Regions from separate parts of the Homo sapiens genome. Here regions 1, 3, 4 and 5 are each linked to region 2. Evidence: promoter capture Hi-C in 16 types of primary human blood cells and fetal thymus (Javierre and others, 2016). All regions are on one chromosome and are shown on one strand. The core of a region is centred on a gene start or on the middle of the fragment in contact, and the rest is flanking DNA. Distances in the headings are between cores, read along the strand shown. Region 1 overlaps NLK (nemo like kinase). Region 2 holds the start of LYRM9 (LYR motif containing 9). Region 3 overlaps NLK (nemo like kinase). Region 4 overlaps NOS2 (nitric oxide synthase 2). Region 5 overlaps NLK (nemo like kinase).

Region 1 (5,884 bases), core at 2,426-4,925, 180 kb before region 2:
CTTGAACAAAAGGCACACAATTAAAAACATTAACTTACACCGAATAAATCTTTTAGAAGCAGCTAGTTCTAACATTTTGGATGTTTGGTCTTCTGTTTTCAACAAATTTTCAAAATATTTGACATGATTATGCACTAAGCTGATCTGCTAACCCTGTCCATGAGAAACTGCAAACAAACTCCAAATGCTCCAATGCCTCCAAATGCTACACGCGATATTGGTCCCATCCTGTTTCTCACTTCATGAGCAGCATGAACTTACCCTTCATTCATAAGCGTGCTCTGTACCAATAATAACCACAATTTCCCCTAGCCAGGCATTACAGTAAATTTAAGTAATTACCTGTTTCAGATTGTCATAGTCCTAGTCTTTGGGGGTAAGGGTTGGGAATCACTTTCAGAATCTGATGAAAGTTAATGATCTTTCTTTTTTTTGGTAGAGATGGGGTTCTCACTATGTTGCCAGGCTGGTCTTGAACTCCTGGGCTCAAGCAATCTTCCTGTTTCAACCTCCCAAAGTGCTGGAATTACAGGCATGAGCCACTATGCCTGGCCTAATTTTTTGTAGAGATAGGGTCTCACTATGTTGCCAAGGCTGGTCGCAAACTCCTGGGCTCAAGCAATCTTCCTGCCTTGGCCTCCCAAAGTGCCAGGATTACAGACATGAGCGACGGTGCCTGACTGGAAGCTCTTCTTTAAAAATGACAGACACATACACACACACAAACATGCACAAAATACTGCACATAATTTCAGCAGTTTGTAGATCTGAAGTCGCTGACCTGCAGGTTAATAATAATATTGGGGAAACTAGATAGCCACATGGAAAAGAATGAAGTTGGATCCTTAGCTTATATCACATACAAAAATCAACTCAAAATGGATTAACGATCTAAACATAAGACCTGAAACAATAAAGTTCCTAGAAGAAAATATTGGGGAAAAGCTTCATGATATTGGATTTGGCAATTATTTCTTGGATATGATACCAAAAGCACAGACAACAAAAGCAAAAACAGATGAACAGGACTCAAAAACTTTTGCCCAGCAAAGGAAACAATCAACAGAGTGATAAGGCAACCTATAGAATGGGAAAAAATATTTGCAAATCATATATGTTTACTTCCTAGAATATACAAGGAACTCTGACAACTCAACAACAACAAAATAACCTGATTTTAAAAATGGGCAAAAGAGAAGATACACAAATGGCCAACAAGCATATGAAAAGATGCTCAACCTCACTAATCATCAGGAAAATGCAAATGAAAACCACAATGAGGTATTGCTAGGATGGCCACTATCAAAAATAGAATACAATAAAATAACATGTGCTGGCAAAAATGTGAAAATAATGGAACCCATGTATACTGCTGGTGCGAATATAAATGGTCCAGTTGCTATGGAAAACAGTATGAAGGCTCTTCAAAAACTTAAAAATAGGATTACCATATAATTCAGCAACCCTACTTATTGACATATATCCAAAAGAATTGAAGCCAGGATCTCAAAGAGATATTTGCATATCTGTTCATTACAGCAAGATTCACAAAAGCCAAGAGATGGAAACATCTGTCTATCAATGGATAAATAAAGAAAATACGGTATATACATACAACAAAATATTATTCAGCCTTAAAAAAGGAAATCCTGTCATATGCTACATCATAGATGAACATTGAGCATGTCATGCTAAGTGAAATATTCTAGTCACAAAAAGACAAATACTGCATGATTCCACTTATTTAGGTATCTAAAGTAGTCAAATGAATATAAATAGAGAGTAGACTGTGGTTTCCAGGAGCTGATAGGGAGGATGGGAAGTTGTTATTCAATGGGTAGTTTCAGTTTTGCAAGATGAAAAAGTTCTAGAGATCTGTTGCACAACAATGTGCATATAGTTAACACAACTATACTGTACATTTTTAAATGGTTACAATGGTCAATTTTATTTTAACAATAAAAAGAATCCATAAGAGTACAATAAATCTGAGAAGGGAGGCTAAGGTCTTTTTTTTAAGGGTCCTTTAATGCCTTGCTAGGACTACAGATGAACTTTATTCACAATTGAGAGAATGGGTGCTATAAACCATGGTTTATAAACCATGTAGTTTACAGAGAGAGTGCTATAAACCAAACTGACTACTCTGAGTCTGGCACTGTACTAGGCACACTACATGTATCATCTTATTTAATCTTCCAATAAGGCTGAAAATGAACACAAAGTAAAATGGAAAGTGGGTGAAACTGGCTATAAGGTGACTAACTACAATGAGAACACGTGTAGTAATCCTGGCAGAAAGAGATAACAATGACAGAATTTACTGGTGCCACAGATGGAATGACCCCCGACAAAGTCTTCAACAATTTCCTGGGCCAGGTTCAATATTGCTACCAAGAGGAAGACTGTGTGTGTGGCACAGGGGAGATAGGCAGGAACTCCGTACTTCCCAAATTTTGCTGTAAACCTAAAACTGACTTAAAAAATAAAATCTGTTAATTTTTTTTAATGGTAAAAGATCTAATTTATCATATAATCAAAAGAGGTTTATAGTCATTTTTACTTCAATGCTTGAAAAAAGGCATGTTATTTCAGGAAACCTTCTGATAATTAAATTTTAATTTCCTCCTACTGGATATGCAATGATCTAAACCCCCATTCAGCTGCCATTACAGAAAATAATCACATATGTTTTCTGGGAGAAAAAAATAATGTACAGTACTTTCTGGATTAAAGCAGTATACCATTTCATAATTTTAGCTGATTGAATGAGTAGAGGCATTTATAAGCTTCAATCGATAGCACTTTTTTTTTTATGAATTCTTTTTATTGGTGAAATAACAAATGCATACCTTAAGGAAGAACAACCTCTTAAGAATTGTTTCATATTTTCCTATAACTATAACATGCTTGAGAAAGAAGCAGAACTTTCTGTGCATCTATATATTTGTTAAAAAGAATTACTCTTTCTTCGAAACTTATGAGAGAGACCTATGATAGGAATTTAAAATAAGGTTAATACTATAAAAACATGAAAATCTATAGTTAGTTTATTATTTCCAGTATGAAAGAATTATAACACACCACTGGCAAAAGAAGCTAAAGTTTCCAAACATTTTCTTATTAATTCCCTCCATATTAATGCAAAGTTTAATATAATGGCATTCTCGGCATCAAACTGATCAAGATGCCTAATTTTATCTCCAGATTAATGTTTTGCATTAACTGATAGTATCAGATGCCTAATAGCCTTAGAAATTGTTTATAATTTAAGTATTCCAAGACAATTAATTCTCAGGAATGACTTTTATCCTCCAGGGCTGGTGATATGGTTTGGCTGTGTCCCCACCCAAATCTCATCTTGAATTCTACTCCCATAATTCCTACATGTTGTGGGAGGGACCCGGTGGGAGGTAATTTGAATCATGAGGGCAGTTTCCCCCATACTGTTCTCGTGGTAGTGAATAAGTCTCATGAGATCTGATGGTTTTATCAGGGGATTCTGCTTTTTTATCTTCCTCATTTTCTCTTGCCGCCACCATGTTAAGAGGTGCCTTTCGCCTCCCACCATGATTCTGAGGCCTTCCAAGCCACATGGAACTGCAAGTCCAATTAAACCTCTTTTTCTTCCCAGTCTCAAGCACGTCTTTATCAGCAATGTGAAAACGGACTAATACAGGTGGCAAACAAGGGAAGGAAAGAAGGCAGGGAAAGGAGGTTTGTACCTTGTCTAAGAAAGAGAAGTACAAAGCCAAAAAAAAAAAAAAAAAAAAAAAAAGAAAGAAAGAGAAGTACAAAGCAAAGAAAGGGAAAAAGTAAAAGGGACACGGGTACTAACTAAAGAAAACATCAATTTAAAAAAACCATGGCATGACACACAGCATTAAATTAGCAAATTTTACTTATATCAGACTGAATATAATTGTCAATCTTACAAGCTGCAATGTTACTTCAGAGGCAGAAGAAATAGGAAGAGAGGCAAAATATGGTAATACAAAAGTCCAATTACTACATTGCACTTAATTTGGTTAGATTAGGACAGATGTTTAAAAAACTGCATGAACCAATGATACTAACCCTCTCTACTCCACTTCTTTGTTTTTCACTGTTTTATAAACCATAGGTCCTCTTTTATTCACATACCAATTTAATACACAGATGCACAAAAATGGGGATACTCTTTTACCTTCTCCAGTCTCAGGAAAAATATCAAAATTTCTAACAGAAAAGTTAAAAGTACCTTTTCTGTTGGAAAACAGTACAGCTCTGTCACATTATTTCAGCTAATCAACAGGAACTGCTTTGGACTGAATGTGTGAGTCCCCTGAAAATTTGTATGTTGAAATCCTAATCACCAATATGATGGTATTAGGAAGTGGGACCTTGGGAGAGGTGATTATATCATGAAGGTGAAGCCCTCATGAATGGGATTAGTGCCGTTTATAAAAGAGGCCCCAAAGACCTGCCTTCTGCTTTCCATCAGATGAGAACACATTGAGAATGTATCATCTATGAACCAGGAAATGGGCCCTCACCAGCCACCAAATCTGCAGAAGCTTTGATCTTGGACTTCCTAGTCTCCAGAATTGTGAGAAATAAACTTTTGTTGTTTATAAGCTACCTAGTCTTTGGTATTTTGACAGTAACTCCATCTTTTAAAGTTATCCAAATTTTTAATTATCCTTTTCTTTAAAAATCTAGTGTCTCTAAATTAGAAGTAACTTGAAAGAGCTCACAATCCTTTTTAGCTCCAACACACTAAAGCCATCACAAATGTTGGCAAAGCAAAATTCGCCTTTCCTCAAAACAACTCACCTCATTTAAGACATATACAAAAAAAGGACAACAAAACTGGGCTTTTCACTTCACCATTTCAATGTGCTTTTTTCACTGTATGGGTAAATGTTTTTTAAAGATAGATTTTATCTGTTGACGTTTTTAGCTTTTATCTATATCCCACCCCATTCCAAAACAGACGGGAGGTAGCTAAGACAGAAGCATACAGTGTAAGATTAAAGGGTGCGGGAAGAGGAGGAATAAGGGTTTGAGGAAGGGGGAAAAAATGGGTAGGAAGCTTATGAAGTGGGGGTGAAGGGACCGAGAAAGTGGTCTGTACCCAAAACATAAGCTAAGAAACTCTACATCCCTTAACTGAGGAGGGTGCACATTTGACTCTGGGCTTTATAGTAGCCAAAGCAAAAGAAGAAAACTTAAGAACAGTTTTTAAGTTGAGGCACTTTTTACTCAAATGCCCAATTTTGTAAAATAAGTAAGTCTGAGAGCTCAATTGCTGTGTCAAAATTCCAAAGAGACTCAAGAATACAAAACAGAGATGAACCTGAGGCACAAACTGTACAGAGATGTTGTCTAAGCAATGCTAAGAAGTTGCCATACAAGTTGTTCTTGCCTAACAAATAATTTGCACATGCTTCAGGGAAATAGCCCCTCAAATCACAGGGGTAGAGAAAGGTTACTTTGATTTCCACCTAATGATTACTTGCCTTTGATTCAGAATTTGTGGCAACTGCAAACACAGCCTATCCAGTGGCAGACCTTTTACAAAAAGAAGTTGCTAGTTTCACACGAATCACCTTAGAGAGAGGTTTCTTTTGGAATAACATCAATCAGTTGTCCAAATCACCTGAATGCTGAGTCTGTTTCTGAATGTTTTTAAAAACTGATTTGTCTGCCAGATCACATAATGTAAACTAGCAGGCTAACACAGCCAATACTCCTTGTGAGCAATGTAAAATTATACCATATTTCATTAACTGTAAAATGCCACTAATGGTAAATGTGCCATTATTTTATGTACTAACAAAAATAAAAAGCAAACAATTGTAAGAAACATCCTAATTTTGGAGATGTTAAAATGAAAAGTGCA
Region 2 (5,237 bases), core at 1,598-4,097:
CATACATCTGATCACCAATGTGGTTTCACATGTGGTCACTGTTAATAAATTACTACAGAACACACTAGAAACAGAGAATGACATATACCAGTCAGCAAAGTTGGATTTATGGTGCTGCAGAAAGTAACATAGTATGGAGGACCAGGAAGGCTGAAACCCAGCCCATAAATTAATCTCCAAGTGTATGTTGTAAATAGTCACAATTGTACCCTTTTTCCTCTTGTGTTCCCTTTTATAAAAATATTGAAATCCTTGCTCATCCCTTTCTTTTGCCCAGCAATTAAAGAAAAACAAACTAGATGTCTGAGATTTCACATAACCTTTCATACCCAATATTTTTATTGTCTTAAATCTTGAGTAGTCAGCAAGAGTTGTGTTTTGCAATACGCTGGGGTAAGGAAAATCTGTTCACCCCATTTTCCATTTTCGCCCCTGGTGTCCTCTTCTGGCATATTCACCCATCACCCCATGGCCCTCACCCTGTGTTCTGGCAGGATTTGAGACATGCAAATTGCAAGCTGGTAAATAGCAGCTTTGCATATTTTGAATAGAAGAGAACAACGTGGTACCACTCATTCTGTTCTCAGGGAAATCTGAGATAATAGGGAGCAAGATCGAGGGCAGACCGAGGGTCTTAAGTATTTTCTTAAAAGTGTTTATTATGCTTATTAAACCTATTGTACACTGATGAATTAATTTGAATTATTTACATGGTCACCCTTGGAGACAATAACCTGATTTAATCAGAGGATGCAAACGTTATCATTTCTCTTTGAAATCTAAAAACAGGTTTAAACTGGAAACGTCAGGACTTCTTGTATCTTTCCCTACAAATACTGGTTACAAATCTGCAGTTGTCAGGCTAAATGACATAATGTCAGAAATCAAGAGAATGTGGTGTATTTCTTAGGAAAGTCAATAAACTCCCCTGTGCGAACATGTCCCCTGGACAGTGGGTGACTAATTTCTCAAGTAAAAGGTCTTTCTATTTTGTTTATCTGTAAATATCATGCACTGTCTGACATAAGGGGGTTCATCTGCTAAAATTTCAGTGTATAGGAAAATGACATGGTAAAAATGGTTGGGGTTTTATCAGATTATGAGACTGGTGTCATTTTAAGTGAATGTTTGGACTAGTAAAAATTATTTCATTTTACTATTGAAGCTGTAAGAACCTAAGGTTGCTGTCAAGTTGAAAGGTTCAAATTCAATTATTTTCAAATCTAGGTTTCCATTGTGACTTGGAAAAAAAATTAGAGATTATTGTTCAAATCTCTCCTACTTTGGATTTTTTTTTCTTAGTATTTGGATGTTTATAAGAAATTGTTGTGAAAGTTAAAATCTTGTGCGTTTGTAAAATTGGAAGAGGCACAAGTGATTCTGAAGGTGGAGCCTTTCAGAGGTAAAGCAAACAGCTTGCATCTTCAATATTTTATGAGATCTAGGTATTAGAACCATGTTTCTGATGCAGGAATACAGCTATCTAGGAACAAAAGGGAGATGAGACTACAGAACAGACTGTGAAATTTCTTAAAATTATTAAATGATCCTAAGACTGAGCACAGGAGTGGATGATGTTACTGCAGATTGTTCTTAATAAGGGCTTTAAAAGCTTAATGATTTATTGATTGGCTCTGCATTAATGACGTGCCCTTGATTATGCATGTGTAAATAAGAGGGCTGATTTATGAGGGTACAATTGTATCTTTCAGATATATTTGTCCAAGTCTACATCTTTAAAATAAATGGAAGCAATTATCTGAATATTTCAAGGGAGGGAACCCCACCTTCCCATCCCCCACCCCCGATTTGAGGGAAGTCTAGTATGTTAGGTGAAGAGAAAAAAAAAGAAAAGAGGAAGCTCTAAAGGGAGTTAGGAACAAAACAAAACTTCCGTTAAGAAATATCCCTGCTTCTCTTATCCTAAGAGAAGAAAAACAGATTCCCAGGTGCCACCGGGGAGCAATGTTTTACTTAAAAAAAAAAAAAGAAAAAGGAAAAAGAAAAACCTGTAAGAAGTTGTCCTGTTAAATCAACGACACATGGAGTCTGAAGGAAATCAGCCTTTTCGTTACAAACAGGTTTAAAAAGCCCTGGAGAAGAGAGACGTGAACAGAAGCAATATTATCCACTAACAACCTAACTCCCGCTTAGACATCAGCTGAGAGATCAGCAGCATCATTGAACAGGGGGGTTTGTCTTAAGATAATGACTCATCTTGATTTCTTTCAGGATATAAAACTTGTATTTAAATCAATTCAGAGAAGCACTTGAGCTTTAAACATTAGAGAGCAGGGAGAGCCTATTTAATAAACAGCATTATTTCATTTTCAAAGAATGATACTGGCAGTAGCTCTAAGTTTAAATTTTGTATTATTTTCCTCAATTATAATTATAGATGGGTCTGAAAGGAAGCATGCTTATTACTGTCATATTTATTCTTTTGACAGGTGTTATGGGACTGTAATTTGGTGAAATGATTCAAAACGCAGATTCCTATCCAAACACAATTCTTGTCATCAACACGAGAGGTTCAGGAAAAGTCCTCCAGCAAGCCTTTCAGAGATCTTGAACACCCCATATTCATAGCACAATCCATATTCAGGAATAAGGAGGAGAGAGTGCCTTTAGGGCTTATATCCGGCGTAGCAACAGCCAGAAGGCAGAGTGGGTGTTTGAGGTAACAGGTAACGAAGGCTGTTAGTGGGGACAGCTTTCAACTGGGTGGGGTCGGATCTAGGAAGAGGCACCCAGTAGGACCCCGAGTCCCGCGCGCGGCCGGCAGAGGGCGCTGGGCTCACCGTCGCCGGGCAGGGGCGGTGCCGCTCAGTCCCCGGGGCGCAGGCGCACTCGTCGCCGCGGCGGCGTCCGGGGCTGGCGTTCCCCTGGAGGCTGGTGAGCCGCGCTGCGCAGGCCGAGGCCGAGGGCGGGGGCGCGGGGGCAGCGGCGGCCGGAGCCACTGGGTGGCGGGGGCGGGCTAGGGATGTGGAGGCCTCGGGTGTCCTCGGATCTATTGAAGACCTAGGGGCGACCCGCGCCGGCACCTTTTCCCTTGCGGTCTGCGCTCTTCCACCGGAGAGCTGAGTGCACCGGAGCGCGGCGCCCGGGCTTGACGCAGGCCTGGCCGGGCGGCCTCGGAGGAGCAGGAAAGGCCTGCAGCGCGAGCTAGGGGCGCGAGGTCCGGGGCAGCCCGGAGGCCAGCCTCTCAGAGGCTCACGGGCCTGGCCACTTTTAAAAGGAGAATGTCCCCTCCACCGTCCCTCTGCCCGCGGCACCCGGTGGCCGGAGCAACCTTGTCGTGATGATTTATGCTTCTGCGTAAGAGCAAGTTGCTCCGTGGCCAAAACCCTTTCGCTCCTAGGATTGATCCTTTTTGTGGTTATTGTTTTAAAAAGTTTTATTGAGATATAATTCACGAAGCATACAGTTCACCCATCTAAAGTGCACAATTCAGTGTCTTTTAGTGTGTTTGCAGAGTTGTGCAGCTGTCACCATAATGTTTTAGAACATTACCCCCCAAAAGAAACACCTCCTTTAGCTGTCACTCCCCCCTCCCATCTACTCCCATTCTCCCAGCCCTAGGCAACCACCAATGTACTTCTGTCTCTGTACTTTTGCCTATTCTGGATGTTTCGTATAAATGGAATCATACATTAAGTAGCCCCTTGTGACTGGGTTTGTTCACTTAGCGTAATGTTTTCTGGGTTCACCTGCCATAGGTTCTTGACTTCAGGACAGTTTCCTGCTGGCTTTAGTTTCCTCTGGTAACTTGGGAATCAATTGACATCTATGGAACTTCTGTTATGGTTCAGGTACTATAAACTGTGGAGGAGTGACTAATAACCGTATATATATTTTTCTTACTAATTTCCCTTCATTTCACAGGTGTTGAACTAATACAGTATAGTTTCTTGTTCTTCAGAAGCTTACAGTCAGCAAGGAACAGAAAGCCAAATAAAGTAGGAAAGGGTAAGATGTTCAACGCTGGGCGCAGTGGCTCATGCCCATAATCTCAGCACCGTAGGAGGCTGAGGAAAGAGGATCACTTGAGCCTAGAATTTTGAGACCAGCCTGGGCAACATAGTAAGACTTCGTTTCTATAAATAATTAAAAAAATTAGCCAGACGTGGTGGCGTGTGCCTGTGATCCCGGCCACTTGAGAGGCTGAGGTAGAATCGTTTGAGCCCGGGCAGTTGTGACTGCAGTGATCCCTGATCATGCTACTGTACTCCAGCCTGGGTGACAGAGTGAGACCCTGTCTCAGGACAAAAAAAAAAAAAAAAAGATGTTCAAGCACTTAAGATGTGCCAGCCCCTGTGCTAGGCACTTTCCATAAGTTAGCTAGGTTGGTCTTTACAAAACCCCTGTGAGGTGGGTTATTCTTTTCTCCAGTTTACAGTGGGGGAAGCAGAAGTCCAGAGAAGTCAACCAGGTTGGCCAGGATTACACAGCTAGTAGATAGCAGAGGTAGGCTTTTAAACTAGGGTTCTTTGTCTCCAAAACCTGCTCTAAGTTCTGTCACATCGATTATAATCACAATAAGTGATTACAGAGCAGTGTGATGACTGTAATAGGGGTGTGAACAGCATGGGATGAAAGCCTGAAGGAGGTGACAGGGAACTGGATCTCTAAGGATGAAGGGGAATTCTTGAGGCAGGTGAAGAAGTCAAGGTAGGGGAAAGCACAGCATGTTTCAGAGATGGTATTAACAATAACAGTTAGTAGGAAACATGTAGTGTGTGCCAGGCATCATGCTTAGTAGTCTAGGAGCGTTATTTCATCCTTACAACAGTCCTATGTAGGAAATACTATTTATTAGGGACCGCATTGACAGATGGGGAACAGACTTCGAGATAGAAGTTAAGAAACTCGTCCAGGGTCCTAGAACTAGCAGGTGATAGAACCAGGATTTGAACCCAGACTGTCTGATCCCAGAGTCCTCCAAGTTCAGTCTGTGGCTAAAATGCAGGAAGTGTGGGAAGGACAGCAGGAGGGGAGACTGATGAGAGGGATTGAAACAGATCTCAGAAGGCCATGGGTAGAGAACTCTCTACAGAGGTTCTGAGGAAGGGGAGTGACAGGGTGTGCTTTTTAGGAAGTGTTCTTGGGTGGCACCATGTGGATTGGGCTGGAAGGAGGGAGACAGATCAGGAGGTATTCGGATAGTCCCAGCCAGGTATGGGTACAAAGCTGGGAACCAAGGTAATGCCAACAGGGATGAAGGGGGCAGGGAGGGG
Region 3 (5,707 bases), core at 2,952-5,451, 210 kb before region 2:
CTCAAAAAAACAAAAACAAAACTAAAGTCCAGTCCCTATCTTCCACTGACCAGGCCCCACTTTGATAAAGCAAAAATGATTGTTTATATATAGCAATTTTTACTGGATTACAAATCACCAGAAACTAGAGAGTGAGAAATGGCCAAGATCTAGTTGAGAAACTGGTTAGAAAAACATTTTACATACTTCTACTCCAAGACCACATCTCAAAATCCCTACTCTGTTCTTAAAGAATATAGGAATTTCAGTGAATAATGTAATAAAATGAATATCAGGCAATAAACACATTTATCACTAGACAAAGGTCAATGGGAAATTTCTTTCAAGTTGAAAAAGAATTCTGGAATGTTTCATTTATTAAATAATAATGGTAATCAACAACAGAAATAGAGTGAGTGTATACAACAAAATGATAAATGTATGAGTCAAAAAATTAGCAGGTTAAGTGGTCAGAATACATTTTTCAAAGAACTTATCAGTCTTAAAACTATTTCTCTTGGTATTTTAACCTAACTGGGCACTATCTCTTACGTTTTCAAATTACAAACCTTAATCAGACCTTACTATAGACAGGGAGAGTGCACCTGCTAAGTTTAAGAAGACACTAGATTTTTGAAAGTATTCAGAACTTGGCTTCAAAAGTTGATCACTAACACATTAATTTCCTACCACTGTGATAACTACAAAAAGTTTAAAATCTATGCATATTTCCAAATTCATTATCTCACTTGTAAATACACATACACAAAACTTCCCTTAATTGAATCTTTAAGACCTTAAATATGTATTGACTATGTGAAGCAGCTCTTTGTAAATTTGCATGTATTTATATATAAACACACAAATATATATGGATGAATACAACTTTCAAACAAAAACTTTCACACTGCAAAAGCTCCAAAGTTCAGAAAAAAGGGTAAAGCACAATCTTAGAAAGTTTGAGTGCAAAAAGATTTTAAATCATGGTAAAAATGCATGTAATGCATAATATCAATGGTGGCTGGCTTATGGAACTTCTGCTATACTTCCAGAGAACAATCTACAGGACTCATTCTTGTTACTCTCAGATAGCATATTATGCTATACAAAGTTGCAAGAAACAGACTAGGAATCACATATAACAAAACTTCCCTCCACTCCACCATTCCTCAACTTTTTATTTTTATTTATTTATTTATTTTGCCATTTTTCTCCCTCAGAAGAATGAAAGGAAATATATAGGAAGGGATAATTACTACCAAAAGGTTGTTAAAAGGTTGTTAGAAATTGCAGAGTTGCTCCACATGAATGCTTTATAGCAGAAAGACAGACATAAGAGCCACCTGCAAACCATTTACTCTTTCCATATACCTTTACTGGGCATCTAACTAGCCATCACTAGGTACTACATATATAAAGAGGAATAAGACAAAGCTGATGCCCCCCTGAAGTAAACTTCTGTCCCATGGGAGAAACTACAAAGAAAAAAATGCAAGCCAGACTCTATAATAAATGAACTTTTATTCATTAGGCTTTCTAAGTCTGCCAAATTTCTTTTGCAACCTCATCACATCCCTCAGAACTCTGAATATCCCAAATCCATGAAATATTTCTAGCTGAGGGGGGTAAAAACTTTTTTTTTTTTTTTTTGAGATGGAGTCTCAGTCTGTTGCCAGGCTGGAAGTGCAGTGGTGTGATCTCGGCTCACTGCAACATCTGCCTCCCGGGTTCAAGTGATTCTCCTGCCTCAGCCTCCCGCATAGCTGGGACTACAGGCATGCACCACCATGTCCAGCTAATTTTTGTATTTTTAGTAGAGACAGAGTTTTACCATGTTGCCCAGGATAGTCTCGATCTCCTGACCTCATGATCCACCTGCCTCAGCCTCCCGAAGTGCTGGGATTACAGGTGTGAGCCACCGCACCTGGCCAAAAACTTTTTTCTACTTTAACATAAGTCAACAATATCCAAAAAATGTTTGATTAAAGCAATTACTGTCAGCAGATCACTTAAAAAGATTAGTTAATATAAGCTTTTCTATCTTAATAAAAATATACCTCAAATAATCCAAAAGTGAGAGGGCTGGAAAAGAGGAACATAAAAACAAAATGCAGGCAACAATAGAAAACAACAACAACAAAATGGTAAACCCAAACCTCACTATACATCACTAATTACATTAAAGATTAATAAACCAAAATTCCAATTAAAAGGCAGAGGCTATCATAATGGACAAAGAAACAATACCCAATCATATGCTGTCTATAAGTGATACACTTTAAACAAAAGATACAGATAGGTTAAAAGTAAATAAATGAAAAAGAATATAGCATGTAAGCATAAGGCAGCTAAAATGGTTATATTAGAATCAGATAAAATAAATCTCAAGATAAAATTTATACAAGAAATAGAGACATTTTATACCTATATAAGGACAATTTATCAGGGAAACATAGCAATTGTAAAAGTGCATGTACACTGGGTCCCTAGCCAATAGGGAAAAAAATAAGTAAACAAGTAAATAAATAAATGGCATATGAATGAGAAAGGAAAAACTCAAAACGTCCTGACTGACAGATGATAAAATCATACATGCAGTAAATCCTAAGAAACATACAAAGAGCTACTAGAACTAATAAATGAAAGCAGCAAAGTTCCAGGGTATGAGGTCAATCTACAAAACTCAACTGCATCTCTACATACTAGCTTTGAATAATTAGAAGATAAAGATGAATAAAAACCCCAACTCTGTTTACAAAAGAAGCACACACAAAAAAAATACTCACAAATAAATTTAATGAAAGATGTGCAAGACTTGTACACTGAGAAATACAAAACATTGCAAAGAGAAATTGGTGACAACCTAAATAAAGAGAAATATACCATGCCCATGGATTCATGTTCATGGCTTAAAAGACTTACTGTTCAAATGGCAAACCTCCCAAAATTATCTTTAGATTCTATGCAATTCCAATCAAAATCCTGCAGGCTTTTTTGAAGAAAGCAACAGCTGATTAAAAAATTTGTATGTAAAGACAAAGGACCTAGAATAGGTAAAACAAATTTGAAGAACAATGTTGAATGATTTATACTACTTGATTTCAACATTATAAAGCTACAGAAATCAATATGTGGTGGTACTGGCATAATGATAGACATAGAGGTCAATAAAACAGAACACAAAGTCCAAAAACAGACCTATGCTTATATGTCAAGTAATTTTCAACAAAGGCCAAGGTAATTCAACAGAACAAAAGATAGCTTTTTAAACCAATGGTGATGGAATAATAGGATATCCACATGGAGAAAAATGACTCATGACCTTTACTCTCACACTATACACAACTTCAACGTTGGCCAGATTTCTATTATTAAAAGAAAAATAATTCATCGTTTCTACCCTCTTTTACCCCACCTTGGACATATAAGGCTACCCTTTCAGGACTAAATTTAAAAGGTAAAACTGATTAAACTTTCAGGGAAAAAAGTCATTTGGATAAAATGTTTGCGACTTTGGGTTAGGTAAAGATTTCTAGAACACAAAGATGCAAAAACTATGAAAGTAAAAAAATAGATGAAATGAACTTCATAAGATAAAAACATTTTGCTCTTCAAAATACACTGTTAAGAAAATGAAAAGGCAAGCCACCAAATGGGAGACACTATTTTAAAACACCTACATGACAAAGGGCTTGTATCCAGAATAAATAATCCAATTAAAACTGAGGGAAGGTCTCCACACTTTATGCAGATGGCTAATAAGCTCATAAAAGTATGCTCAACAATCACTAGTCAGAAAAATGCAAATTAAAACCACAGTAAGATTCTACTACACAGCCACTGGTATGGCTGAAGTTTTAAAAGACTGACATATTTAGCACTAATCATACTATATTGTAATTATGGCCAAGTTTCTCTATTCCAATAAAACATGAGCTCGTGGTTTTAAAAAAGTCTGAAAATAATAAGTGGTCATGAGGATTTGGAGAAAATCCTCATTTGCTGGTATGAATGCAAAGTGTACAGACACTTTGGAAAGCAGTATGGTGGTATCTTATAAAGTTAAATATATACTTACCATGTGAATTAGAAATTCCATTCCTAAGTATTTACCCAAGAGCAATGTAAAAAGAGCTATGTAATGTAAAATGTAAAATCTAAAATGAGCAATGTAAAAGAGCAATGTAAAAAAGAGGTATTTACCCAAGAGCTATGTAAAAACTTGCACACAAATGTTCACAATTGTGTGATTCATAAAAGCCAAAACTTTGGCACAATCCAGATGCTAATCAAGTGATGAACACACAAATAAATGTTGGTACATCCATAGCAAAGAACACAACTCAATAATATAAAACAAATGAAATATTAATAAAACATGGATGGATCTCAAAACATTATGCTAAGTAAAAAAAAGTCAAGGCCGGGCGCGGTGGCTCACGCCTGTAATCCCAGCACTTTGGGAGGCCGAGGCGGGTGGATCATGAGGTCAGGAGATCGAGACCATCCTGGCTAACAAGGTGAAACCCCGTCTCTACTAAAAATACAAAAAATTAGCCGGGCGCGGTGGCGGGCGCCTGTAGTCCCAGCTACTCGGGAGGCTGAGGCAGGAGAATGGCGTGAACCCGGGAAGCGGAGCTTGCAGTGAGCCGAGATTGCGCCACTGCAGTCCGCAGTCCGGCCTGGGCGACAGAGCAAGACTCCGTCTCAAAAAAAAAAAAAAAAAAAAAGTCAAACACAAAAGACTATTTACAATATGACTCCATTTATTTGAAAATATAAATGTCTACAAAATGACTTTTGTCAAGACAAAACTATAGTGACAGAAACTAGACCAATGGTTGCCTGGGGCTGCAGATGAGAGGGGACCAGTTGCAAAGAAACAGGAAGAAACTTTTTAGGGTGAAAGACCTGTTCAACGTTCTGATTGTGGTGGGGGTTCCGTGATCGTATATAATTACCAAAATAAAACTGTACTGTGTACAAAATTCACAGATAGGTGAATTTTGTTGTATGTAAACAAAATCTTAATTTTAAAAAAGGAACACAAAATCAGAAAACAAAAGAAATAGTACTCCACTGCACTAATAAAAGAAACAAAATTGAAACTGAGATATTATTTTTTTCTCATAGACTTGGCAAGAATTACACTAGTGATGAAAGGTGTTAATTAGTACATTTCTGGAGAGTATTTTGGCGTTGTATTATCGAAACCCTTAAAAAATGGGTGGACCTTTTTGTCCCAAAATTCTACTTCTGGAAATGTTTACTACAGAAACAATCAGACAAAATAAGCCTGTACAAGAATGGTAATGAAAGCCAGGCACGGTGGCTCACACCTGTAATCCCAGCACTTTGGGAAGCAGAGGTAGGTGAATCACCTGAGGTCGGGAGTTCAAGACCAGCCTGACCAACATGCAGAAACCCCGTCTCTACTAAAAATAAAAAATTAGCCGAGCGTCGTGGCGCATGTCTGTAATCGCAGCTACTCAGGAGGCTAAGGCAGGAAAATCACTTGAACCCGGGAGGCGGAGGGTGTGGTGAGCCGAGATGGCGCCATTGCACTCCAGCCTGGGCAACAAGAGCAAAAATCCATCTCAAAAAAAAAAAAAAAAAAAAAAAAGAATGGTAATGAAAAACTTTTCATAGTTGTGAAAAATAACTGGGAAAAAACTTGTATGCCCAACAATAGGTGATTGGTTAAATAATGAAATATCCATCCAATTAA
Region 4 (5,427 bases), core at 1,619-4,118, 130 kb after region 2:
GGGCTGGTGATCAGCCTTCCCTGGCAGTCCTTTCTCCATGCGCCACCTTCTTCCTGCCTTTTGCTCTTAGAGCCAGGTCTTTAGAGCCTCCTTTCCCCTGCAGCTGGAGAATAGAGGGTGTCTGCCTGGGGGCCTCGCTACCTGCTGAGAATCCTGAATGGGGCCTCTTTTCCATCCTGACACCTTCCTTCCCCATCCAGGCAGCTACTGGGTCAGTGACAAGAGGCTGCCCCCCTGCTCACTCAGCCAGGCCCTCACCTACTTCCTGGACATCACCACACCCCCAACCCAGCTGCTGCTCCAAAAGCTGGCCCAGGTGGCCACAGAAGAGCCTGAGAGACAGAGGCTGGAGGCCCTGTGCCAGGTGAAGATCAGGGCTGGTGGGCAGTGGGGGTATGTGGGGGGTCCCAGCATGTGGGGAGCCAGAGTCCAGAGCTGGTTTTAACTTTCAAGAGGGATCCACACCAGGTTCCCAAAGTGAGACTTGTCAAAGGCTGGTGGGAAGCCAGGCATCGTCCGCTGGCCCATGTCTAGGACACAGTTGTGTTGAGTGAACTGAATTTTTCCAAGTGTCTGCAGGATGCAACCAGAGTGCACTGCCTTGAACATTAGCTAGAAAGGGGAGCCGCCCTTATCCGTCTTTGCTTTCCCCAAAACTGGAATAAACTTGTCACTTAAGATGTATTGGGGGATGGATGATGTGGATGAATGGATAAATGGGCATAATGGGCAGAGTGACAGATGGAGAGCTGAATTAATAAGTTAATGAGAGAATGCGTTAACTCACCTGCAACTGTCTGGTTCCAAGTCTTTGCAAAAGGCACTGGTTGTCATTATTATCATCATCATTATAGCTAATTATCTCAATTTAAGCTACCTCCACCGCCATTATTTTGTGGCTGCAATGTACTAACTTGGCACATGCTTTCTCATTTAATTCCCATAACATCCCCACAAGACAGGCAATACTGTCCTTGTTTCACAAAGGGTAATTGGGACAAGATTCCACAGCTAGTGAGGACACCCAGCCAAGATTTGAACCCAGGTCTGATTGGTTCCAAAGCCTTGCCCCAAATAAATTACAATAAAGATTTGACCCCTGCCCATGAGTTGCCGACAGTGGAGGTAACACAAGTTAGATAAATGTACTGGACTGAGTTCCTCCAGGACAGGCACTTATTTTGTCTCAAGTTTGGTCGTCTCAGCACCATGGACAGTGCCTGGCACATGGACTTGTTTGTTGAGTGAGTGAATGAATGAATGAATACTGGGTTGTGACAGTCTTTTCCCCAAAGCGGGACAGGCGCCCTGAGTCACTGACATCACCCTTGGCTTTTAGCCCTCAGAGTACAGCAAGTGGAAGTTCACCAACAGCCCCACATTCCTGGAGGTGCTAGAGGAGTTCCCGTCCCTGCGGGTGTCTGCTGGCTTCCTGCTTTCCCAGCTCCCCATTCTGAAGCCCAGGTTCTACTCCATCAGCTCCTCCCGGGATCACACGCCCACAGAGATCCACCTGACTGTGGCCGTGGTCACCTACCACACCCGAGGTGAGCCAGGGGCAGAGGCTCTGGAACAGCCCCGCTCCGCCCATTATTGGACATCTGTTCATCAACTCAGATTCAGCTCCCTCATCAGTTCAAGGAGGGAGGGAACACCCACAGCCCAGAGTTGTTAACAGTATTAGGAGGTGTGTGGGAGAGATCTCTAGGAACCAGGCACTAAACCAAGCCTTCTGTATGTATATGATCAGTTACATTGTGGGGTAGGCACTGTGTGCATTTTACAGGTGGCACAGAAAGTCACACTGTTAGTAAGTGGAGAGCTGAGATTCAGACCTGGATAGTCTAACTGCTGAGTCCAAGTCCTCCACCACTCCACTGTCCCACTACTCTTGGGACAATTTAATGAGATCAGATGTGAAGAGCACTCAACCCTTGGTAGGAGGCCAGTGGTTCTTAGTCTTCCCAATCATGCAGCCTGAACGCAGGGGAGATTCTGCATTGATTATTCATTCACTCACTCAGCTATTCAGTGGGTGCCTGGCACTGGGGTGGGTATGGAAATACAACAGAGATCAGCCCTGCCCTCAGGGAGCATCTAGAGGCGGCAGTGGAGAGATAGGCATAGAAATAATTAGATGATTTTCATTGTGCTGAAGCCAAGAAGGAAAGGTCAGGGTCACTGAGGGAAGCAGAGCAGGGGGTGACGCTGCCATAGAGCGGGAGGCCAACATCTCGTCCAGGTGGTCTCGGCTCCACCACTGGCCGCTGCCCCCTGCCCTGCCCTCTGTAACTGAGCATTGCCTGGGTTGGCAAAGCTGGGAGCTGCCCACACTTCCGAGCCCTCTGTCCTCAAGAAGCAAAAACACAGTTTCTAAAACCTTGGCAGAGACTCTATTTGCCCTGCTAGAGAACAGCCACCCAGACCAGGAGAGGAGAGGCAGACGTGTCCTGTGAGATCAAAGTTTAATCCCGAGGAAAACCAGGGGGACCTCTGCAGTTGGTTGGAGGCCTTCCTCAAGTGCTGGGCCATTGTAAAGGGAACACAACCCAGAGAGACCTCCTGGGTTTCTACAAGCCCAGGAGGGCCCACTGAGGAGGAAAGCAAGGTGCCAGAGCAGGCTGAAATGCGCGGAACTCATCCACCACCCAGGGTTGCTACCAGCAAGGGCCACGCTCATGAGCACGCACAGCAGTAGCCACCCTGAGGGGCCACTTCATGCTGCTGTCAGTGGAGCTCAGTGGTGAGCTGGGAGTGTTCCCGGAGAAAGTCTTTGGAAGGAGCACTGGAGTAGGAGTCAGGGAAGCTGAGCTGTCCACCTGATTCCACCACGACCTGAGTGACCTTTTTCAAGTCACTTTTCCTCTCCCCGTCTCAGTTTCTGCTTGGGCAGAAGGAGCAACTTGCAGCCTCTCTAAGTCCCTTTCAACGTTCCTCAGCTCCGCGCTTACAGAGGGTGGATCTCAGAACCAGGAGGACAAACAGCTGCTCATTGAGTCCTGAGAGTGCCTGAGTGGGGGCGTCCAAGGAGGGCCGTGGTGTGGGCGGAGCAGCTGGTACAGTTTGCGCATGGGCAGTGGGGGGACGTTGGTCACTTTGTGGTATCGTTGCAGATGGCCAGGGTCCCCTGCACCACGGCGTCTGCAGCACATGGCTCAACAGCCTGAAGCCCCAAGACCCAGTGCCCTGCTTTGTGCGGAAGTAAGCACCCCTTCCACTCTGTCCCCTGTGGGGCCGCCGACCCCTGGGAGTTCCGGGAGGAAAGGGAGGGATCTGGGGTTTAGGAGACGCTCGGAGCCCCTTGGCCCATAAAGAAGGCACTGGGGTCACACTGGTGTGGCTGCCTGTAGCAGGGACAGCGATGACAGGTGGGTCTCAAGAGTCCAGTGAGCTTGGCCCTTTTACAGAAGGACCTGGGGGAGGTGCTGGTGCCTGGACAGAAGTGAAGCAGCCTGCAGGACGTGGGAAATCAAATAGGAGCTTCTTGTCCTCTCCACCCCCTCACGACCGCCTCCCACAGGCCCAGCTCCCCAGCCATCCTGTGTGTGCGTGGGCCTGGGGTGTCTGAGGACTGGCCCCCTCTTCTCCTGTCCTCTTCAGTGCCAGCGGCTTCCACCTCCCCGAGGATCCCTCCCATCCTTGCATCCTCATCGGGCCTGGCACAGGCATCGCGCCCTTCCGCAGTTTCTGGCAGCAACGGCTCCATGACTCCCAGCACAAGGGTAAGGCTGGAGGCTTCCCAGGTGGGAGGGGCACCAGGGGGCCAGCGCCTGCCTAGGAGCAGAACTGCAGCCCCACAAACGGTTCCTGACCTCTCTCGAGGGAAGGCCTCCCAAGTTTGCTTCCCTGTGCGGGCCTCTGCGGGTTAGAATGGCTGCCTTTCCGTCTCCCGCATAGTAGCCAGGGCTCCCTCTCCTGGGAGTGGAGGTAACAGGAAAGTCCCTGCTTTTGATCTCCGATTGGCTGAGGGAATTCTGCATCCGCACTTTCAGTTCTGTGACTATGGATGAGTGATCTGAATGCGCTGGGCCTCAGTTTCCTCATCTGTAAAGTGGGGATAATGCTATTAAATAGCTAGTGGGAGTGAAGTGAGAATTCCAGTTGGGCTTGGAGCCCTGGCGCCCTCTGGTGGCCAACATGGTAACAACAGCCCGGGACTCCTGCAGGAGTGCGGGGAGGCCGCATGACCTTGGTGTTTGGGTGCCGCCGCCCAGATGAGGACCACATCTACCAGGAGGAGATGCTGGAGATGGCCCAGAAGGGGGTGCTGCATGCGGTGCACACAGCCTATTCCCGCCTGCCTGGCAAGCCCAAGGTAAATGCAGCCTCAAAGCAGGTGAAGCATTACACACACAAGCTCCACTGTGAGCCCTGGGTCCCCACAGGCCCCTCGCCTCCCCGAGCCTTCACCTCCTGAGCTCGAAAATGCTGGTAATTCACAACCATCAGAGTGATGCTGTGAAGAGCATTACACCCTCTCATACAGCAGAAGCGACAGACCTGGAGAGGTTCAGGACTAACCTAGGTCACACGCGGGTTAACCCCAGAGCCCAGCCTGCTGAAGGTCCCCAGCAGGCCCCCTGGGACACGCGACTGCCCGGGGAGAGGTGGTCCAGGCTGGCTACGCTCAAGCCTTGCAAGGCTGGAGGGCGGCCGATGCTTCCACCACGGCCATCAGAGGGGCTCTTCTGTCCCCAGGGCCGCGTTACCCCCTGAGCCTGGGGTGTCAGAATAGACTCTCGGCCTTCACACATTTGTCCCATCAGGGCACCTCTTGGGCCCAGTGCTCTGTGCCCAGTGCTGGGGCCACTGGGCATCCTGTGTGGAGCAGGAGCAGAGAGTCCCTGACTGACTCCTGGACCTTGTATCTGGGGAGCCCGGGATCCATACCCTGCAGAGACCTAATGGGTAGACTGCATTGAGAGGCTCCCTTTTCTGGGGTGTAGGCAGAGCCCTGGGCAGGGGGACTGCCTTCATTGATGCCTTTTTGAAGCATGGCAAATTCAGAGACAGTCTGGGATCCCCACTGGATGGTCAGCCCCTCGAGGGCAGGACTGTGTCCAGCATTTATCTCTCTAATCCCAGCCGAGCCCCAGGGGCATCCATGCACCTCATCCTGAGCCTGGCCCCTTGCAAGGTCCTGGCTGGAAGGGGACTCACTCCTCACCCCTTAGTGCCCCTCTCCCCGCCTCCTTGAGGCCAGCAGGCCTGCCTGCAAGCCTTGTCCTGAGCAGCTGAGGACTGAACCCACTGTTTCCTCTGGTTTCAGGTCTATGTTCAGGACATCCTGCGGCAGCAGCTGGCCAGCGAGGTGCTCCGTGTGCTCCACAAGGAGCCAGGCCACCTCTATGTTTGCGGGGATGTGCGCATGGCCCGGGACGTGGCCCACACCCTGAAGCAGCTGGTGGCTGCCAAGCTGAAATTGAA
Region 5 (5,706 bases), core at 525-3,024, 230 kb before region 2:
AATGTTTAACCATGCAGGCAACCCTCCCACAGTGCTTTTATCATAGTAGTTATCACATTTTGAAAATTATTTCAACTATTTGAAGGTAAAGACAACAGGAGCTAATGTAGTTTAGGCATACAGGATGTGCATAATAAAAGTTTACTGAATTAATGAATATGGGCTCTACAGCAAGACAGATTTACAGTCCAATCTGTGCCACCTTAACCTTGGGCAAGTTACGTAACTCCAAGTCGTTGGTTCCTCCTCTACAAAGTAAGGTTAACAAGCCCTATCTGACACGATTTTTAAGGAGTAAATTAATTAATATATGTAAAGTATCTAGCATATCTCCTGACACAGAGCAATATTAAACATACCCCTTCAAAAAGAAAGTGTTTTAAGCCTTTATTGTATCCTCCACATGACCTAGCACCGCACTCCTTACATAGGACACAATAAATAAACATTTGCTGCCTTAACTAGATCAAATACCAGTTGCCTCTTAGACTGGCATTCCACACATAGTAGTTATGCTGGCCCTGAGATCCTTTTGGAAATAGATCTCAGAGATAGCAGAGATCTATTATATATAAAATAGTGGTGCTGTGCCATCTTCAACTATGTGCCTCACTTTTAAACACTTTCACAGATGTCACAGGCACTCTTCTATGATAGAGCTCAGTAGTTTCAAATAGTGGTTGTGTGTTGAGCAGGTTTATATGCATTAAAAAAATTTAATTTCTGCAACAATCATACACAGTTATTTCTGCTTTTACCATGCCTGCTTCGAAAATGAAAAAAACTTAAAGATTGGAGAAGTTAAGGTCCAAGACACAACAGTACAAAATAGTAGAACCACAATTCAAACCTAGTTCTGACTTTAAAGCACAGCTCTTAGAAACTGTATGAGAATTGCTTCTATGTTTTAATTGGTGTGATTTTCACAAATTCAGTTTATTTTTCTTACACTACTCCCTTTGACACTGTCTTTGTAACTTAATTAGTTACTAGGAATGAGTCATGAGCAAAAATACCAACTAGACAAACAGCAGCTTATTATACCACCCTTCCTTTATAGAAGAGGCCAAGATTGGTTGGAATATAGTAAGCCATTGACATCATTAGTAAGCAAATTTCTTTTTTGTCTTTTTTTTTTGAGGTGATATCTTGCTCTGTGCCCAGGCTGGAGTGCAGTGTCGTGATCTTGGCTCACTGCAACCTCTGCCTCCCAGGCTCAAGTGATCTCCCACCTCAGCCTCCTGAGTAGCTGGGACTATAGGCATGTGCCACCAAACCCAGCTAATTTTTTATTTTTTGTAGAGATGGGGTTTTGCAGCGTTGCCCAAGCTGGTCTTGAACTCCTGGACTCAAATGATCCAGCTGCCTTGGCCTCCCAAAGTGCTGGGATTACAAGCATGAGCTACTGCGCCCGGCCCCGAGTAAGCAAATTTCTGATGCCACCCTTGAAATATTTTTTCGTCATGGATACCTTTACTTGAGTCTCTGACAATGAAAGAAGGTCTGCACTCTTTGATGCTGAGGTGACACACTAAGGCAAGGTCAAGAAATAACTAAGAAAGAACTAGACATTATTCTAAATTATTTCTAAAATCTGAGGAACTGGTAGTAAAATAGTAACTCAAGTGGTATTTTGTTTTGTGTGTGTGGTTTTTTTTTAGAGATGGAGTCCTGCTCTGCACCCAGACTGAAGTGCAGTGGTTGATCATAACTCACTGCAACCTTGAACTCCTGGCTCAAGTGATCTTCCCACCTCAGCCTCCCAAATAGCTGAGACTACAGATGTGTGCCACCACACCCAGCTAATTTAAAAAACTTTCTTCTTTAGAGATGAGGTCTCGTTATGTTGTCCAGGCTGGTCTTGAACTCCTGGACTCAACTGATCCTACCACTTCAGCCTTCTGAGTAGCTAGGATTACAGATGCAGCCATTGTCCCTGGCTTCAAGTGGTATTTTGAAATGTATTAAAACAAGCATATTGCTAGGCAGTTCCAATTGACTAAAACACAGCAATGCCCTTTAAAAAAATTAAGGCAAGAGAATTTCAAGAGGAATAATCATTAAAATGAAATATGTCAAACCAAGGAGCTTCGAGTGAACCATATGGTAAGTTTAGTACTCCCAGTTTTAACAAATACCTCAAACTTTTCAAAATTTGCTTCTTAAAGTGAGACCAAACCTTTGGCCAAAGTTCTCGAGTTTTTTGTGCAAATAAGCACTCAGACTCATGAGAAATCATAATTTTTTTTCTGATAAGTTTTTATTATGGCAATTAAAATAGCATAGGTTGAGTATTATATAAAGAATTTGAGGCAGTTTTTCTTTTCACATGAAAATGAAAACATATTCTAATGCTGGCGACCTCCAGGTAAATTTTACATGTATCAAATTTTTAACTCAGGATTAATTGAAGGAAAGTTCTGTCAAAACACGAGTCTATTTGTCTATAAGTCTTCACATCTCTAAACATAGCCATAAATAAGGTAGCCTATGTTACCTTAAGGGATGTACTGTTTTTATAGGAGAAACTGTTTCCCACATCTCTAACTTAATCTCTGATTTAAAATATTGAGATAAAAATAAAGCACTTAAAATCAAGGGTCAATTATTTCCACTTAAATCACTCACTATATAAATCACTACACTCTATTTTTGTGTTGAATATTAGTATTATTCCTCGGCTAAATATCAATATTTGCTTTGCATCAATATTTACCTGTCAATCAATCAATCTTAGAATTCACTTGAATTCACTTACACTTGTTCATTGTTCAGTCACAAAAAGGGTCTAATTTGTCTCAGGTTTCCAAGCCCCTCAATAAAAACCTTGGTTGTGGTTTCTATTAATAACCTATTTCCCTACAAATATATGCTCCTTTTCTATGGGCTTTAAACATATTTAATAGCTTGTATTCTTAGAATTAAAAAAGACATTCAGATTGACAAATGAGAGTGCACACCACATTTCAGAAGCCAATGCGAAACTCAATAGGTTCAACGTTTCCTGATTTGGAGTTTAGGGCTTGTGCATGTCATACAATTCATAGTGTAATTTTCAAACCTTCAAATAAAATGCTGATAAAATGGACTCCCCAGGTGAGTCTAATATGTTAAGGTTGAAAACCACTAATCTCAATAGTGAAAATTTAAGACAGTCATAGAGAGACATAAAGAGTATATATAAAAGGAAAGCAAAGCACTGAAAGACTACAGCTTAGAAAACGTGTGTGTGTGTGCATCTCTTTCAATAAGAATGTATGAATTGAAAGCCTATCAATAGGTATTCTCCCATAACCTCACTGGTGCGCTTATTTCTTTTCACATTTGGCATAAAACTATAGCCAATTTCCAAATTTTACTTATAGGTGCCCTTTTAAACTTTCATCTGCTCTTTACTAATTCAATGCAGGAGGCTTAGGAAATAGTTTCCCCCAAATACCAATTTCACTTACATTATCATGCTTAAAAAAACACAACATCTTCAATTCCCGGAAGACCCTTTTGCAAGAGACCAGATTCTGGAAGACGTTGGGCATCTTTTTGAGCGCTACTCTCTTTCCATCTCTTGGATCTGTTACTGACCTAAAGAAGCAATATTTGGGGAAGGGGAAAAAAAAGACAGAGAAATCAGTTCCACACCTTGTTTTCCAATGTTTCAGATCATGACAATATCTTTATCTTAAAACACTCAACATTAAGTCCACTTAATGAAGCTTAAGGTGTCAGTGAGAAAGATAAAAGAGTACATATCTATAATTAAAGAGAATGTTTGGTCACCCAACTCATCTGCCATGCTTTAAAAAAAAAAAAATCCCTGTCTAAATTTCTATAAACACTTACTCTTTCAGAGAGGTCACTTTATACATCTGAGGTAGGAGAGGTATTAGTGGTAAAGCCATTTTAAAGATGGGAAAAAACATACAGAAGCAGCATAGATCATTAATTTGATAAAAGTCAAATTAGCTTTATGCTTTATTTTCAGAACTACATTTGAGAGGGAAGACATGTTCAAACACAATTTAAATATTTAGATTTCTTATGTATATGAACATCTTTTAGTAATATGGACTTCAATATAAGCAGCAGTTGAACACTGTCCCCTCCTTAGAAGTCTGGGTGCCAGCTTAGGGATCCCTGTAGCTCCCGAGTAATGATAACCTCATCCCTTTTATTTCCCAGCTCTTAGTGTGGTAGTTGCTTCTTGCAGTTACTATCTTTTTAATAACTGTGTCCCCCCACTCCCTTTTTTTTCTCTTTTTGCCTTCCAACACCTATATAACCAATTTCCTGTATTATATTTCCCTATGTTTGAAATAGGAGTGTGGTTTCTGTTTTTCTGACTGAACCCAGTTGATACATATTAACTAAATAGGTAAAAGAATGTCAGGCCAGGCTCAGTGGCTCATGCCTGTAATCCCAGCACTTTGGGAGGCCGAGGTGACTGGATCACCTGAGGCCAGGAGTTTGAGACCAGCCTGGCCAACATGGTGAAACCCCGTCTCTACCAAAAATACAAAATTTAGCCGGGCGTGGTGCATGTCTGTAATCCCAGCTACTTGGGAGGCTGAGGCACAAGAATTGCTTGAACCTGGAGGCGGAGGTTGCAGTTAGCCAAGATTTCTTGACTGCACTCCAGCCTGGGCAACAGAACGAGACTCTGTCTCAAAAAAAAAAAAAAAAAAAAAAAAAGAAAAGAAAGAAAAAAGAAATACCAATAAATTGAGTATACACGGCCAATTGGTCATTTGGCAAACTGACTTTCCATGAATTAACCTAGAGCTTTTTTTTTTTTTCCCCCCTTCTACCTATCATACTAAGATTGGTTGTTCTGGTAGAATTTATTCCTGTCCAATTTATTTAGCTAGATTCCTGCCTAACATTCTCAGCTATTATCGTTCAGCCCCTGTTCTGATCATCCAATGCTCTGAGTATTTATTCCTCCTAAATTTGTGTCATTTTAAAATTTGAGGCTAGGCTCAGTGGCTCATGCCTCTGTCCCCAGCACTTTCGGAGGCTGAGGCAGGAGGACTGCCTGAGACCAGGAGTTTGAGACCAGCCTGGGTAATACAGCAAGACTCTGCCTGTATTCAAAAAAAAGAAAAAAGAATTGATCCATGTGACATTAATGTCTCTTTCTAAGTTATTAATTAAAGTTTAGAACAGGACTGAGACTAGATCTCTGCAACAGATACAATACTAGAAATCATCAACGAGACTGACATTCAATCATTAACCTTGAGTATGGATATTCAATTACTCATTCAATGAACTACAATCACTCAGGAAATCAGACACTCATCAAATTGCTTTCCTGAAAATAAAAATTCCTATTGTCTACATATCTGTCTAAAAACCATATCAAACTTCTTTATGGATTCATTTTAGTGATCACTACTTCCTTTTCTAAGTGCTCATGAAACTCTGAAATGATGTATTCTAGTATTTTTTTTCCTTAACATGGTGCTATCTCTACTGAGTATTCTAGTATTTTTTAACAACACGATGACTTCACTTTCTTCCATTGGCCAATATTTTGATAAAACAAGTATTATCTATTATTATTATTCTTTAGAGACAGGATCTCACTGTCACCCAGGCTGGAGTGCAGTGGCACAATTAAAGATCACTGCAGCTTGGAACTCTTGGGCTCAAGCAGTCTTCCTGCCTCAGCCTTCTGGGACTACAGGCAATTTTGAGTTTTCAATA

What was found. The method cuts DNA at HindIII sites, captures the fragments that hold promoters and counts their contacts. A CHiCAGO score of 5 or more calls a contact.
Region 1: a fragment that was not itself captured here is called in contact with the fragment with the promoter of LYRM9 in region 2 in 2 of 17 cell types (megakaryocytes and M2 macrophages); the score reaches 10.8 in megakaryocytes.
Region 3: a contact is called between a fragment that was not itself captured here and the fragment with the promoter of LYRM9 in region 2, in 2 of 17 cell types (megakaryocytes and M2 macrophages). The highest score is 6.4, in megakaryocytes.
Region 4: a contact is called between a fragment that was not itself captured here and the fragment with the promoter of LYRM9 in region 2, in 5 of 17 cell types (naive CD4 T cells, naive B cells, monocytes and 2 more). The highest score is 5.9, in naive CD4 T cells.
Region 5: a fragment that was not itself captured here is called in contact with the fragment with the promoter of LYRM9 in region 2 in 6 of 17 cell types (megakaryocytes, M2 macrophages, M0 macrophages and 3 more); the score reaches 11.0 in megakaryocytes.

What each region holds. Positions count from the first base shown.
Region 1 is chr17:28,074,968-28,080,851 of GRCh38, reverse strand. The region is part of intron 1 of NLK (nemo like kinase); the gene reads right to left. Among named protein-coding and RNA genes, the nearest start is that of NLK, 35 kb to the right of the region's middle. The HindIII fragment of the contact is 1,767 bases long and covers 2,792-4,558 here.
Region 2 is chr17:27,890,975-27,896,211 of GRCh38, reverse strand. LYRM9 (LYR motif containing 9) reads left to right here and starts at 2,847. Exons shown (of 4, transcript NM_001076680.3): 1 at 2,847-2,895. RefSeq lists a silencer at 2,666-3,215. The HindIII fragment of the contact is 2,313 bases long and covers 1,615-3,927 here.
Region 3 is chr17:28,098,571-28,104,277 of GRCh38, reverse strand. All of the region lies in intron 1 of NLK (nemo like kinase), which reads right to left. Among named protein-coding and RNA genes, the nearest start is that of NLK, 59 kb to the right of the region's middle. The HindIII fragment of the contact is 4,375 bases long and covers 2,014-5,707 here.
Region 4 is chr17:27,758,918-27,764,344 of GRCh38, reverse strand. NOS2 (nitric oxide synthase 2) reads left to right here. Exons shown (of 27, transcript NM_000625.4): 21 at 201-364; 22 at 1,340-1,547; 23 at 3,114-3,201; 24 at 3,601-3,722; 25 at 4,167-4,315; 26 at 5,270-5,427. Among named protein-coding and RNA genes, the nearest start is that of NOS2, 39 kb to the left of the region's middle. The HindIII fragment of the contact is 7,852 bases long and covers 1-5,427 here.
Region 5 is chr17:28,120,479-28,126,184 of GRCh38, reverse strand. NLK (nemo like kinase) reads right to left here. Exons shown (of 11, transcript NM_016231.5): 2 at 3,453-3,582. Among named protein-coding and RNA genes, the nearest start is that of NLK, 81 kb to the right of the region's middle. The HindIII fragment of the contact is 3,882 bases long and covers 1-3,715 here.